5 separate regions of the Homo sapiens genome follow, and all the other regions are linked to region 1. Evidence: promoter capture Hi-C in 16 types of primary human blood cells and fetal thymus (Javierre and others, 2016). All regions are on one chromosome and are shown on one strand. The core of a region is centred on a gene start or on the middle of the fragment in contact, and the rest is flanking DNA. Distances in the headings are between cores, read along the strand shown. Region 1 holds the start of PLCZ1 (phospholipase C zeta 1). Region 2 overlaps PLEKHA5 (pleckstrin homology domain containing A5). Region 3 overlaps PLEKHA5 (pleckstrin homology domain containing A5). Region 4 overlaps PLEKHA5 (pleckstrin homology domain containing A5). Region 5 has its middle 16 kb from the start of PLEKHA5.

Evidence for each region. Contacts are between HindIII fragments. The CHiCAGO score rates a contact against its expected background, and 5 or more counts as called.
Region 2: a fragment that was not itself captured here is called in contact with the fragment with the promoter of PLCZ1 in region 1 in 1 of 17 cell types (megakaryocytes); the score reaches 6.2 in megakaryocytes.
Region 3: a contact is called between a fragment that was not itself captured here and the fragment with the promoter of PLCZ1 in region 1, in 1 of 17 cell types (megakaryocytes). The highest score is 7.0, in megakaryocytes.
Region 4: a contact is called between a fragment that was not itself captured here and the fragment with the promoter of PLCZ1 in region 1, in 1 of 17 cell types (megakaryocytes). The highest score is 5.5, in megakaryocytes.
Region 5: a fragment that was not itself captured here is called in contact with the fragment with the promoter of PLCZ1 in region 1 in 1 of 17 cell types (megakaryocytes); the score reaches 5.8 in megakaryocytes.

What each region holds. Positions count from the first base shown.
Region 1 is chr12:18,736,697-18,739,376 of GRCh38, forward strand. It overlaps PLCZ1 (phospholipase C zeta 1), which reads right to left and starts at 1,316. Exons shown (of 15, transcript NM_033123.4): 1 at 1,236-1,316; 2 at 665-813. The coding sequence starts at 675. It overlaps CAPZA3 (capping actin protein of muscle Z-line subunit alpha 3), which reads left to right and starts at 1,423. Exons shown (of 1, transcript NM_033328.3): 1 at 1,423-2,492. The coding sequence starts at 1,573. The coding sequence ends at 2,472. The HindIII fragment of the contact is 1,122 bases long and covers 273-1,394 here.
Region 2 is chr12:19,190,967-19,193,646 of GRCh38, forward strand. The region is part of intron 3 of PLEKHA5 (pleckstrin homology domain containing A5); the gene reads left to right. Among named protein-coding and RNA genes, the nearest start is that of PLEKHA5, 63 kb to the left of the region's middle. The HindIII fragment of the contact is 1,049 bases long and covers 798-1,846 here.
Region 3 is chr12:19,172,691-19,175,370 of GRCh38, forward strand. All of the region lies in intron 3 of PLEKHA5 (pleckstrin homology domain containing A5), which reads left to right. Among named protein-coding and RNA genes, the nearest start is that of PLEKHA5, 44 kb to the left of the region's middle. The HindIII fragment of the contact is 5,251 bases long and covers 1-2,680 here.
Region 4 is chr12:19,150,215-19,152,894 of GRCh38, forward strand. The region is part of intron 3 of PLEKHA5 (pleckstrin homology domain containing A5); the gene reads left to right. Among named protein-coding and RNA genes, the nearest start is that of PLEKHA5, 22 kb to the left of the region's middle. The HindIII fragment of the contact is 1,593 bases long and covers 575-2,167 here.
Region 5 is chr12:19,112,756-19,115,435 of GRCh38, forward strand. No RefSeq gene overlaps it. Among named protein-coding and RNA genes, the nearest start is that of PLEKHA5, 16 kb to the right of the region's middle. The HindIII fragment of the contact is 168 bases long and covers 1,265-1,432 here.

The DNA of each region.
Region 1 (2,680 bases), core at 66-2,565:
CCTCTCTGTTTTAGTTCTCTCTTCCAGAAAGGTGAGCAAATTAACCCTGAATCTTAAGGAAAGTGGAAGCATTAGATGAATTCCTAATATGCCACCGAACACAGTTTCTGCTACTTAGTGTTCAATAAATAGTAACCATGACTGATAAAGTTATTATTACTACATTAGTCCAATGCCCAGCTACACACACACTCAAGACAGTACCATCAAAAAGCATCAGAAATACCATGGTGAGTGTATATTTGGTATGAAAAACGAAAAAAATTTTTAAAAGCTTACTTATCATAGATAAACTACAAAAACTAGGACACTTCCATTTGAAAAACTAAGATCGAAATGAGATAATGACAATTATCACTAAAATTATAAAAGGTATAGGTAAAAATTGTGCAAAACTACTAAGTTTCAGATTGTTAGAACGAATTAATGAGATCTCCTTAAATTTAATAGTTATGACTTAATCCAGCAAAGCTCATGTTCTTGTAAGAAAAAGATACCAGAATGCAGGGAAAGTTAGAAAAGCTCAGAACAAACAGGGAAAAGCAGTTCAACTTAAATGAAGAGGACTTAAATTCAGAACTCCTCGAAAAGAATAACAGCATCAAGTAAAGAGGATAAGTAGGAGAAAGAAGAAGAGGAGCAGAAAGAAGCTCTCAATGGATATCTCATTTCCATAGTTTCATGACCTGTAGAGCCGTTTCTCCTCACTTAGAAGTCTTTCCCCAGTAGGTGCTGTCATGGGTTCCAAATACAATTAACTCTGCCCCTTTGCAGAAAATAATTTCTTGATACTCATCAGCTGTTACCACTTTTCTAGGGAGAAAGCAGAGAACACACAGTGGTTTTTTTTGCCTTCGTTCTTTGAAGCTAGCTCACACTTAACCATAGAAACAGTATGCAAGATGTGGTACCTGCACTACCCTGCCCTTGAAACTGTTTGGCTTCTTACGTTCTGACCACCTCCAAACCCACAATATTTGAAAACACAGCTTTCCCTGATGTCTGGCATTTTTCCATGAACTGCCATTGTATCTCCTTTTATTTTTTACTACTTTGTTTAAACCCCTCAAACCTTTCATCATAATATGCTTCCAGTGGGTTTGGGCAGCTACTCTGAGAGCCTGAGTATAAATCAACACCATTGTGATTCCTGAAGTTGCAAAGTGCTGTCACTCTTGAAACTTTGGGCTGCTTCTCTAGATCGTTGACAACATATAATGCACACAGAGACACACCACTTTCGAAGAAGACTGTTCAGGAGGCTAAGTTCTTAAAATCTTCAAAAGAGGTATAGCTGGTTGGCTGGGCACCACACTGTCAGGTGACTGTCATTTTTTCCTTTTGGTCTGAATTCCCATTGTGATATCATCAGAGGTTCCACACTTCACAAGGAAAGCTTCTTATGACCTCATCAGGAGGCTCAGACCTTGCCAGACTGCCTGCTTTCATGGATAGACATAAAAACCTTCAGCTTGAATGTTAACACCTTGATGGGAAAGGTGGCTCATGGAATGTTTTCTTATCCTTTGAACACTCCTCATTTCAGAAGCTTTGCTTCTGTTGCAACCAAACATGACACTTAGCGTGCTGAGCAGGAAGGACAAGGAAAGAGTAATTCGCAGACTGTTATTACAGGCCCCTCCAGGGGAATTTGTAAATGCCTTTGATGATCTCTGTCTGCTTATCCGTGATGAAAAACTTATGCACCACCAAGGTGAGTGTGCAGGCCACCAACACTGCCAAAAATATTCTGTACCACTCTGCATCGATGGAAATCCAGTACTCTTGTCTCACCACAATGTAATGGGCGACTACCGATTTTTTGACCATCAAAGCAAACTTTCTTTCAAATATGACCTGCTTCAAAATCAGCTGAAAGACATCCAAAGTCATGGTATCATTCAGAATGAGGCAGAATACCTGAGAGTTGTTCTTCTGTGCGCCTTAAAACTGTATGTGAATGACCACTATCCAAAAGGAAATTGCAACATGCTGAGAAAAACTGTCAAAAGTAAGGAGTACTTGATAGCTTGCATTGAAGATCACAACTATGAAACAGGAGAGTGCTGGAACGGACTTTGGAAATCTAAATGGATTTTCCAAGTTAACCCATTTCTAACCCAAGTAACGGGAAGAATATTTGTGCAAGCTCACTTCTTCAGGTGTGTCAACCTTCATATTGAAATATCCAAGGACCTGAAAGAAAGCTTGGAAATAGTTAACCAAGCTCAACTGGCTCTAAGTTTTGCAAGGCTTGTGGAAGAGCAAGAGAACAAATTTCAAGCTGCAGTCTTGGAAGAATTACAGGAGTTATCCAATGAAGCCCTGAGAAAAATTCTACGAAGGGATCTTCCAGTGACCCGCACTCTTATTGACTGGCACAGGATACTCTCTGACTTGAATCTGGTGATGTATCCTAAATTAGGATATGTCATTTATTCAAGAAGTGTGTTGTGCAACTGGATAATATAAAGAATTGCTCCTGGTAACTATCTTGATTTGACTTGTTTGTGTTTCTTGGGAATGGTTATTTTCCTAAAATTGAGCAATCTGTAGAGATGTCTCTCACTTAGCCAATGCAAATTTAAATGGGAAAAGTGTAGCAAGTAATTTTACTTGGGGAATATTTATGAACAAGGCAAGAAAGTGTAAAGTAACTGTGTTTCATGGTGGTGACCAT
Region 2 (2,680 bases), core at 72-2,571, 450 kb after region 1:
GAGTGTGGTGACTAATTAGTTTCCTATGATGTAAACATATTTGGTATTTTATGTCATTTATTTTAATTTTTTTTGACCATGACTCGCAATAAGAAATAAATATTATTGGATGACCCACTGTCCACTTTATATAATACTAAAATGAAAATACTTTCTTCCCTTTACCACCTATACCTTCTCTTCTGTTTTGTTATTTTAAAGTACTGGTAGCAAACATCCTGTTAACTGCATTTCATTATCTACTAATGGGTCAGACCAAGATTTAAAAACACAGTGCCCTGTGAAACAGTGAGATTTACATGGGCAAGAATGGGAGTGAAGTAGGGATTATTTCTTGCATGTAACTGTGGGTCATAGACCAGTATGTAGAAATCAAACTGTTAATACTTTAATACCCTGACACACAGCTTCCCACACTGAATGCTTTGAGTTAATGTTGAGTGTTGTTGAATGAACAGCCTAGCATCCATCACTACCATGCGGCCTAATTGGTTGTTGTTGTTGTCAGTCTTGTCCCCTAAACTCATCTTATTGCAGTACAGATGATTGTTTTTCAACTGCTGCTGCCAAGAACCAAAATATTCAGTTATACAAAATAAGATACGTTGTAACCTAATTAGATACAGGTATATCAGCTGTTTTCTCAAATCACCTCTAAACATAATGCAATAATCATTTATTAACATTCCCTGTTCCTGTGAGTCAGGAATTCTCAAGCTGCTTGGTTGGGTAGTTCTGGCTCAGGTTCTCTTACGAGGTTGGATGAGCCTTATGAGCTTAAGGCTTTAGTCTCTGCAAGCTTGAAAGCTCATGCTGGAGGATCACGTGTCTGGCAAGTTGATGGTGGGTAGTTGGTTTCTCTGCATAAGGCTGCGTGACCCATGACATGGTGGTTGGCTTTGTCCATAGTGACCAAGCCTAAGAGAGTAAGGTAGAAGCCGCACTGCCATTATGACTTAGCTTTGGGTGTCACTTTTGTCATATTTTATTGGTGAAAAAGGCCAGCCTTGATTCATTGCAGGAGGGGACTATACAAAGGTGTGTATACCCTTGTATAGTCCGTGTATAGGCTGGGGATCACTGAGGGTCATCTTAGAGGCTTGCTACCATACTTTAAAAGGATATCTTTATTAACAATTGACTTGAATTTAAAAAAAATTTTAGTATTTTTATTTTTAATTTTAATGAAGGAAAAAGTAAACATGTAAATGCTTGCTTTATTTTTCAATTTTATAAAAGCAGTTAATTACAGAGAAGTGCTGACATTTCTACTTTTCATAGGAAACTTGGAGAGAAGTCAAAGGTGTAAAAAGGACAAATTTTAGAAAATGAGATTCATGAGGAAAGACTGATTAAGTTCACTTTAGTTAATGAAATGTGGAATTATGAAAAATTAAATATTAAGGAGAACCCTAATGAAATTATAAGAATAGAAAATAATTTACTCTTGGCCTGGCACAGTGGCTCACACCTATAATCCCAGCACTTTGGGAGGCCGAGGCGGGCAGATCACTTGAAGTCAGGAGTTCAAGACCAGCCTGGCCAACATGGTTGAAACCCCGTCTCTACTCAAAATACAAAAAAAATTTAGCCGGGCGTGGTGGCATTCGCCTCTAGTCCCAGCCACTCGGGTGGCTGAGGCAGGAGAATTGCTTGAACCTGGGAGGTGGAAGCGGTTTCATTGAGCCCAGATGGCACCTCTGCAGTGCAGCGTGGGCCACAGAGTCAGACCCTATGTCTCAAAAAATAAAAAAGAAAAGAATTTATTCTTACTAAAATTAGTAAACCTAATCATTAATAAGTGAAATTGATCTAGTAAATAATTGATCAGAGGCATGTGGTACTAAGCTTTTAAGGAGTGATGAGACTATCATAGACATTCTACTTAACTAATACTTTCGATTAGGGGTTAGTAACTGTGGCTGTGGACCAAATCCAGCCTGCTGCCTGTTTTTGTAAATAAAGCTTTGTTGGAATGCAGCCATACTCATTTATGTAATGTCTATGGCTACTTTCTCACTATAGCAAAGTTGATAGTTTTGACAGACTGTTGGGTCCACAAGGCCTGAAATATTTACTATCTGGTCCTGTACAGAATAAATTTGTTGACCCCTGTTTCAGATTTTAGACTTTTACATTGTAGATTAGGTTTTGGAGTGTTTATGAGGTGCATAAATCCAAGGACAGTAGCATGTGAGTCAACTTTAAACATAAGAGGGTGCAATGTTAATGTGGTTTTGATTTTTTAAGAAGGAAAGTCTTAATACTTAGAAGAGGGGCAGAATATAGTAAGATTCACAAGAATGATGCTTCATTAGGTAAGACTTTGTTTATTAAGATAATTTATGAGCTTTCAGTAGACCCCATGTTGGGAACACATGAAGCCAATATTTTAAAAGCAAATAATGTTGGTTAAATTAGGTTCTTGTGAGAAGGCAGTTTAAATTTTTAATCAATTTCTTACTTCAAATGGAAAGTTAGATATGAATTTTATACTTGGACGTTTATTCTGATTTAGAGTTTTGATTTTTTTAATTTGTATATAATCATAGGGTACAAGTGCAGTTTTACTACATTGATATATATTGCATTGTGGTAAAATCAGGGCCTTCAGTGTGCATCTATCACTGGAGCAATGCACGTTGTACCTACCAGAGAGCCTCCCAGCACATCGTACCTA
Region 3 (2,680 bases), core at 105-2,604, 440 kb after region 1:
TTGGATCTTTGCAGTAACCCTTAAGAGAGCACCATCATTATTCTTATTTTCAGATGATACACCTGAAGCACAGATAAATCAAATTGGCTACAGTCACATGGCTAGAAAATGGCAGAGCCAGGAAAATAACACAGAATTTCATGAACACTGTATTTATTGCTCCACCATATTCAGTGTGTCCTGTGCTTTTGGGGTGTTAAAGTAGTGGTGGTGATCATTCTCCTCGTGTCTCGGGTATGTTTTGCATCTGAGCAATAGAATGGGAAAAAAGTTGTTTTTTTTTTTTTAAAGAAAATTGCTACTGATTTCCCTTTCTTTTTTTTTTTTTTTTTTTTTTTTTTTTTGAGACGGAGTCTCGCTCTGTCGCCCAGGCCGGACTGCGGACTGCAGTGGCGCAATCTCGGCTCACTGCAAGCTCCACTTCCTGGGTTCACGCCATTCTCCTGCCTCAGCCTCCCGAGTAGCTGGGACTACAGGCGCCCGCCACCGCGCCCGGCTAATTTTTTGTATTTTTAGTAGAGACGGGGTTTCACCTTGTTAGCCAGGATGGTCTCGATCTCCTGACCTCATGATCCACCCGCCTCGGCCTCCCAAAGTGCTGGGATTACAGGCGTGAGCCACCGCGCCCGGCCCTTGATTTCCCTTTCTTGTATGCATACACCCATACACATAAAATTTTGCCATCTGTTTATGAAAAAGTACAGCTTTAATTTCTTTTTATTGCCAGTTTTCAATCTCTGCCCATCAGAATAGTAAAGAAAGGATTCTCCAAAAAAAAAAATGTGCTCCATTATCGGAGCCAGACACAGTTGAGTGTGGGGACGAAACCAGTGCTAGCTGGGAGCAGTGCTTTTTACTTTTTTCCCCCAGGTAACAGTAATGACATGGTACTAATACTTTTTATTAGCAGTAAGACCTCAAAGATTCTCAAATCACTCACTATTTGAAGCTGTCATTATCCCACGAATCCCTTTGGCTCCAGGGAACAGGACAAAGAAGAGGAATACAGCCTAGGGGATAGCTTAAGGTGTCATGTTTGATTTCTTGTAATTAACTTTATCATTTAAAAAGGCATCATGTATTTTTATACTTTTTGAATTTGGCCAGGTCTCATGCGGATGATAGTGGTCTAGATAGTTCATGTTAGTAGTGATAAAAAATTAGGAGCCACCATCAAAAATCAAACATTAGGTTTTAAGTATTGGAATTAGGAGGTTTTTACCTTTCAGGACTCATAGACTGAAGCTACTGTTGCTATAGAAATGATTTTCCACCTACATAATTTGTGTTTGAGACAATTCTTTCTTAAATACATTTTTAAAACTATAAAATGAATAAGCGTAGGCATCACAGCACAGAAATAATTCTTCAGATGGGAGAAAAGTGATTTGTTTTTAATAATATCATGAGTAGAACCATGAAAACCCAACTACAAATCTAATTTTATTTTAAGATATTTCTTTAATACAAGGATTGAAAAATTAAAACAATGTAAATGCCTGTAAGGGGCATGGTACTATTCTGGCAACAAGGAGCTTTTAAGAGCAGTGGGCTCTTAAATAGGTTTCGTTTTTTGTTGTTCTTCCTGCTAAACTGCTCTTAAAATGATTATCAGAAAATCGCACTGGAGGTGTTAATTCTTTGAATATATTCGCTCTATGTGTATATTTCCCCAAGTTTCTAATATTCTGAGAACTTAAAAAAGCAAACATGGGTAGTATCATGTTGCTAATCTTGTTATAATATGATTTGAGTTTTATTTTTAACATATACTTAAATGTTATTTGTTTTTTACTTCATAATAACCAGTTATTTCATTTTGTCCTATAGGTGTTTCATGCTCTAAGAAAAACATTGCGAGCTCTTAGAGGCGTGGGATTTACACTTGGAAGCAGGCGTAGGGACCGTTCTGCCCAACTTTTTCATTTTACTGACCGATGAGCTGATACTTTGAGGGCTAAGGTGACACCTAGGTTATTCAGCTTATTGTAGCAGAGCCGAGACCAGAATTAGATTTACCCTAAGCCTTTTATTATTTACATGATGCTGTGTCTTTGTTAGCCTCTTCCATACTAGAGGGCCACTTGGTTGTATTTTTATCTGTACAATAGATTTATGTATGTAAACATAAATCTCCATGCAGTCATCTCTGTTGGATTTAGATGAATAAGTTCAAGAATCTAAACAAGCAGTTCATACAACACAGGGAAACTACAGCCAGTCTTCAAAATTGTTTTGTAGTGAGAGAAATTTTATTTGCATATGTAGCATTTTAACATAGTTGATTCCCATTAAGAAAATAATGATCAAGCTAATAAGAAATGTGAATAAAAAATGGGAACAGTGAAAGTCAGACAAAAAGAAACATAAATGGCCAATTTTTTAGAAGACAGCTGGAATGAGGTATCTTATTCCTGTATCAAATTGGCAAAGATTTCAATGTGGGAATATCCCTATGTTAGTGAAGGCAGAGGGAAATAGTTAACTCTCTTTTACTACTGATCGAGTGTAAACTGTGAAAATAGTCAAATATAAAATGCTCATTCATCAGTTCTATACCTGGAGATTTATCCTGCAAATTTAATAGTACAGTATTGATATTGAGTTGAACTTGCATATTGTTTTTAAGGATGGCCATTGAAATGTTGTTTATACACCCAACACATACAAAATAGCAAAA
Region 4 (2,680 bases), core at 121-2,620, 410 kb after region 1:
AATAGAGTTATTATGTTTTTTTCTTTTGATGCCCTGTTTAGTTGGTTTGGTACTTTCACTGGGGCTGTGTCAGTTTAAGGTCCAAAATAGATCTGACTGATTCTGTTTTGGGGGATGGAGGAAGGTATCTTAGGTCTCAGTGTGCTTCTGAGAAGTCTTTCAAGTAGATGACCTCCCCTGTTCTGCCCACACCCAAAACCCACTGACCAAGCACTTGCTGTCATGTTACCCTGTTTTGTTTTCCCTGTGGCACTTATCACTGGTTAAAATTCTTATTCACTTACGTGTTTTCTTTTTCTGCCTTGTGATATGAGCCTCACAAGAGTGGGGACCTCCTCTGACCCTCTTTGCTGCTAAATTCTCACAGTTAAGAATAGTGCCTTTCTGTTCTTAGGAAATGCTCAATAAATATCTGTTGAACATTTGTAATAAATATTTTGTAATAAACAAGTCAGCAGTTTGTTAAAATACAGTGTGTTTAAATGCTATGTCACTGGTGCATTGCAGACACTTGTTGGGTATTTATGGAATCTTGAGGGAGGGCCGTGGTCAGTAGGAGCTCAAGGAGAATGAAAGCTTGAAGCCACAAAGGGTTTTTCTAGATTAATCCAGTGAAAGACAGATGAGCAGGAGAGTTAGGGTATGATAGATTTGTTGAAATGTTGAACTGTTAGACTTCAGGCTGGGAAGGAGGGAAGTAGAGCAAAAAGTGATCTGATAGATTGGGATAGAGATTCTTCCAAGACCAGAGAACTCCCACAGGGAAGTAGTTAAACATGTATACTGCAAGGTTGGAGATTTGGTGTTGCAGTGTGATCATTGAAGTCATGATTTTAGATGTGCCAGGTTATGGGTATGACAAGGTTCTGGGATTAAGAGAATGGATGGCTCAGGTAGTTGAAGGACCTTGGGGGAATGGGGAATAAATATCTGTTCTTTGAGAGAATGCAGTAGGACAGCTGATGGGAGAAAGTCCTTAACAGCCAAGGTACTGAGGTAATGCTTTGAAAAGAGGTTGAGGGTATAGAGGAGTTTGCTAATTATGGAGCACCATTTCCATAGGTAGTTAAATTTGTAAGATAGAAGGTGGACTGTAGACTAGGTCAGGGATGGAAAAAACAAAGCCTTGTAGGGTTAATGCCAGGTCAGTAGATGGATTGAGAGAGGAATTGGAGATAAAGTTAATTTGGGCATTGAGAGGTTTGCTGAATTTAGTTTCAGTAGACTCCTAGAGAAAGGTGACCCTGGGACTTACAGAGGCCGTGACTCATTTGGCCAAGAGTGGTGGTCAGCCCAGGAATTTGTGGGTTCTGCCTGTGCTCCTTAAAGGGTATTTGGGTAGGTAGATTGTGAACTCTTAATAGCTTACATACTAAGCAGATACATAGTCATTAGCAGCTTCCATATTTTCACTATGGTTTTTCAGAATATTTTAAGTATTTTTTTATTAGAAATGACATTTTCCAAATGTAAACTCTTTAGAGATGGAAAACATTAATGATATATGCAAATACTAAAGGACAGTGATTTAATTTAAGTAATACTGTTGTCAAGTGTAAAATTCAAAGATCTAAGCCTGGAACCTGGACTTAAAAAAAAAATTCAAGGATCAAGATTTTCAGGTTAGCATTTTCTATTTTTTGGTCATACTTTTTTTTTTTTTTTTTTTTGAGACAGGGTCTTGCACTGTCACCCAGGCTGGAGTGTAGTGACACGATCTCGGCTCACTGCAAGCTCCACCTCCAGAGTTCATGCCATTCTCCTGCCTCAGCCTCCCGAGTAGCTGGGACTACAGGCGCCTGCCACCACGCCCGGCTAATTTTTTGTACTTTTAGTAGAGACAGGGTTTCAGCATGTTAGCCAGGATGGTCTCGATCTCCTGACGTCGTGATCCACCCTCCTTGGCCTCCCAAAGTGCTGGGATTACAGGCGTGAGCCACCGCGCCCGGCCACATTTTTTTTACATTGGTATTAGCAGTAGATATTTTAATGTAAATATTTAATCTTTTTTGCTGTTAGTCATTTTGAAAGTTCAAACTGTGTGATGAACCAGACCAAAACTTCATAATCTTTAAACCACAAAGTTGCCTAATAGGCAACAAAGTAAGCAGGACAACAGTGGAAGATTTTACAAATTCTCAGAAACACCTGGAAATAATTTAGGAAAAGCTTTTGACTCTAGGCTCATAGATAGAGACTGTACATGAAGAATAATTAATAGCAATTACTTTCTTGTCTTTAGTCTTTCGTCAGATTTGTTTCTTTGAAAAGAGCAAGGCAGGTTAAAATAATCTGTATAATATAAATTGCCCATGCAATGCAGGTCAGTTTGTTTTATGCAGGTAGCAGTAGTACGAACTTGGGGTCCAATGATATTTTTTATATACTACTTATATATGATGGTAATAATTAAAATCTTTGAGTATGTTTTATTTCTTTAATTATGACAATTTAATTAAATGCCAAATGAATATAACATTTGTCAGACATAAGGGAAAATAAGATGAATAAGCACTGCACATGATACTCAGCTTAAAATAAGAACATTTTTTTTATGTCAAAGAGCTTCTCTAGGATCTGTAAATAGGAGTGTAATTGAAGTTGTAAAGTACATGCATTTGATTTTGGGAATTTCTTTATTATAATCTTTTATCCATAATATGTGTGGCAAATTTACTCT
Region 5 (2,680 bases), core at 99-2,598, 380 kb after region 1:
GCACCAGACTACCAGTGTGTGTGTGTGTGTGTGTGTGTGTGTGTGTGTGTATCTGGCTTCTTTAACTTCATATTAATTTTTGAAAGTTGTCTTTTTACTTCACAAAATGTGATGATTATAAAAATATTTTTATCTATACAATTACAAATGTAAAGATAAGTTACTGAGTGAGGTTCTGAATGGATCTATTGTCCTAGGTATTTTTATGGATAGGATTTGTTAAATAAGAACTTATAAAAAGTGCTCTGCAAGAAGTCTTAATAACGTTCCTATCCATGTTTGTTAGTTCATTTTCTGTTGCTGTAAAGGAACAACGGAGCCTGGGTAATAAAGAAGAGAGGTTTATTTGGCTTACAGTTCTTCGGGCTGCACAAAAATGGCACCAGCATCCACTTGGCTTCTGGTGAGGCCTCAGGAAGCTTTGACTTATAGTGAAAAGTGGAAGAGGAGCAGGTGTGTCACATGGCAAGAAAGGGAGCAGAAAGAGAGATGCCAGCCTCTTTAAAACAACCAGGTCTCACATAAACAAATAGAGTAAGAATTCCCTCATTACAAAGGGGATGACACCAAGTCATTCATGAGGAATCAGCCCAAGCATCTGTCACTAGGGGATCACATTTCAACATGAGATTTGGAGGGGACACACATCCAAACTATGTCACCATGCATTTCAAAATAGATTCTTGGCTAGGCATGGTGGCTCACGCCTGTAATCCCAGCACTTTGGGAGGCTGAGGAGAGGGGGATCGCTTGGGCCCAGGAGTTTGAGAACAGCCTGGGCAAAAAAATGAGATCCCATCTTTACAAATAAAATTAACCAGATGTGGAGGGATGCAACTATAGTCCCCGCTACTCAGGAGGCAAAGGCAGATCACCTGAGCCCAGGAGATTTGAGGCCATAGTGAGCTGTGATTGCATCACCATACTCTAGCCTGGGTGACAGAGTGAGACGCTGTCTGAAGTAAAATAAATTCATTAACTTAATTAAATAATAGAAAAATAAAGTCTCTGGTGAATGATGACACTAGACATAGTAAAGAGCAAATACAGTGGCCAAAAGTCAATTTTTCAATTTGAGAATGATTTTTCAAAGAGCATCTATTCACTAAAACCCACTCTTGCCTTTACCATGCACAATTACACCTAAATGACCAGTGTAGTTACCAAATATTGGTGCTGTGATTCCAGATTGGCTTCTATTGGTTATAATTTAGCTAAGATCCAGCTTTTTCATGAATAAAAAAATCTGTCTCTAAATCCAGTAAGCTTAGATCACTTATCAAGTATATTATAGATCCAAATTATACTTTAGTTGGAAGATTAGATATATGACTGGTAAGGATTCTTTCCACTATATGGGGAATATTTTAATTCATTTGTTCATGATAGATATTTAGTTAAGTCTACCATGAGCTTTTACGTGTGAAACTTAAGCTTTAATTTTTTCCAATGGTGAAATGTAGAATTGCTGGCCTTCCTCTCTAGACATTTGAGACAACACAGATTTTCATAGTTTGATACAGATAGAGCTTAAAATTTTTTATTATAAAAAGAAAATATGCTCAGTAAGGAAATATTGGAAAATACAAGTAAGTACAAAGAGAAAGACTATTACAAGAAGCTAATCACTGGCCAGATGTGGTGGCTCATGCCTGTAATCCCAGCACTTTAGGAGGCCAAGACAGCTGGATCACTTGAGGACAGGAGTTCAAGACCAGCCTGGCCAACATGGCAAAACCTCGTCTCTACTAAAAATACAAAAATTAGCCGGGTGTGGTGGCATGCACCTGTAGTCCCAGCTACTTGGGAGGCTGAGGCAGAGGAATCGCTTGAACCCGGGAGGCAGAGGTTGCAGTGAGCCAAGATCATACCACTGCACTCCAGCCTGGGTGACAAAGCACGACTCCATCTCAAAAACAATAATAATAATTATCACTGCTTACAGTTGGATGTATGTCCTCCTCTGCTTTCCTCGTTACAAACATATTTTCTAACCTGCCCCCCAAAATAGGTATCGTGTTATCCATATTACTTTAAGCCTTTCTTTTTCACCATTTATACATTATGAACATTTTCCCAGGTTTGTGGTCTTCTAAAACCACACTTTTAATGGCATGCATTGTTTAATAGCCTAGTTATACCAAAATATGCCCAATAAAACCCAAATTCCTGGGCATTTATAAGGGAAAAAAAGCACTATGGTGAATAACTCTTCACATATCACTTTGCCCACATCTCTTATTATTTCCTTAGGATGAACTCCAGGAAGCATTATTTCTGGGCCAATGGGTATACACATTTTTAGACATTTGTCTCATATGGTCAAGTTGCCTTCCAGAAAATTAATATCTATTTTAACTCCCATTAGTAGTATATGAGAGTTCCACCTTCCCTACAACCTCTATAGAAATGGGTATATTTCCCCCTCAAGTTCTTTTTCTACACCCAGTACTTAAGGAATTGTGTCTTATAACTGTTTCCCTAATTGCTAATAGTGTCTGCCACATAGTCCGTGTTCAAGAAATATTTATTAAAGAGAATGAATGAATAATAAACATTCTTCTAAGCTAAACATGAAGTGGATACGGGGAAATAATAGAATGCAGAGGAAAAAAAAGGAAAACTAAACAAGGAATCAGGAGGCTGGCTCTGCTGCTAAGCTGTTGTATCACTAAGGGCA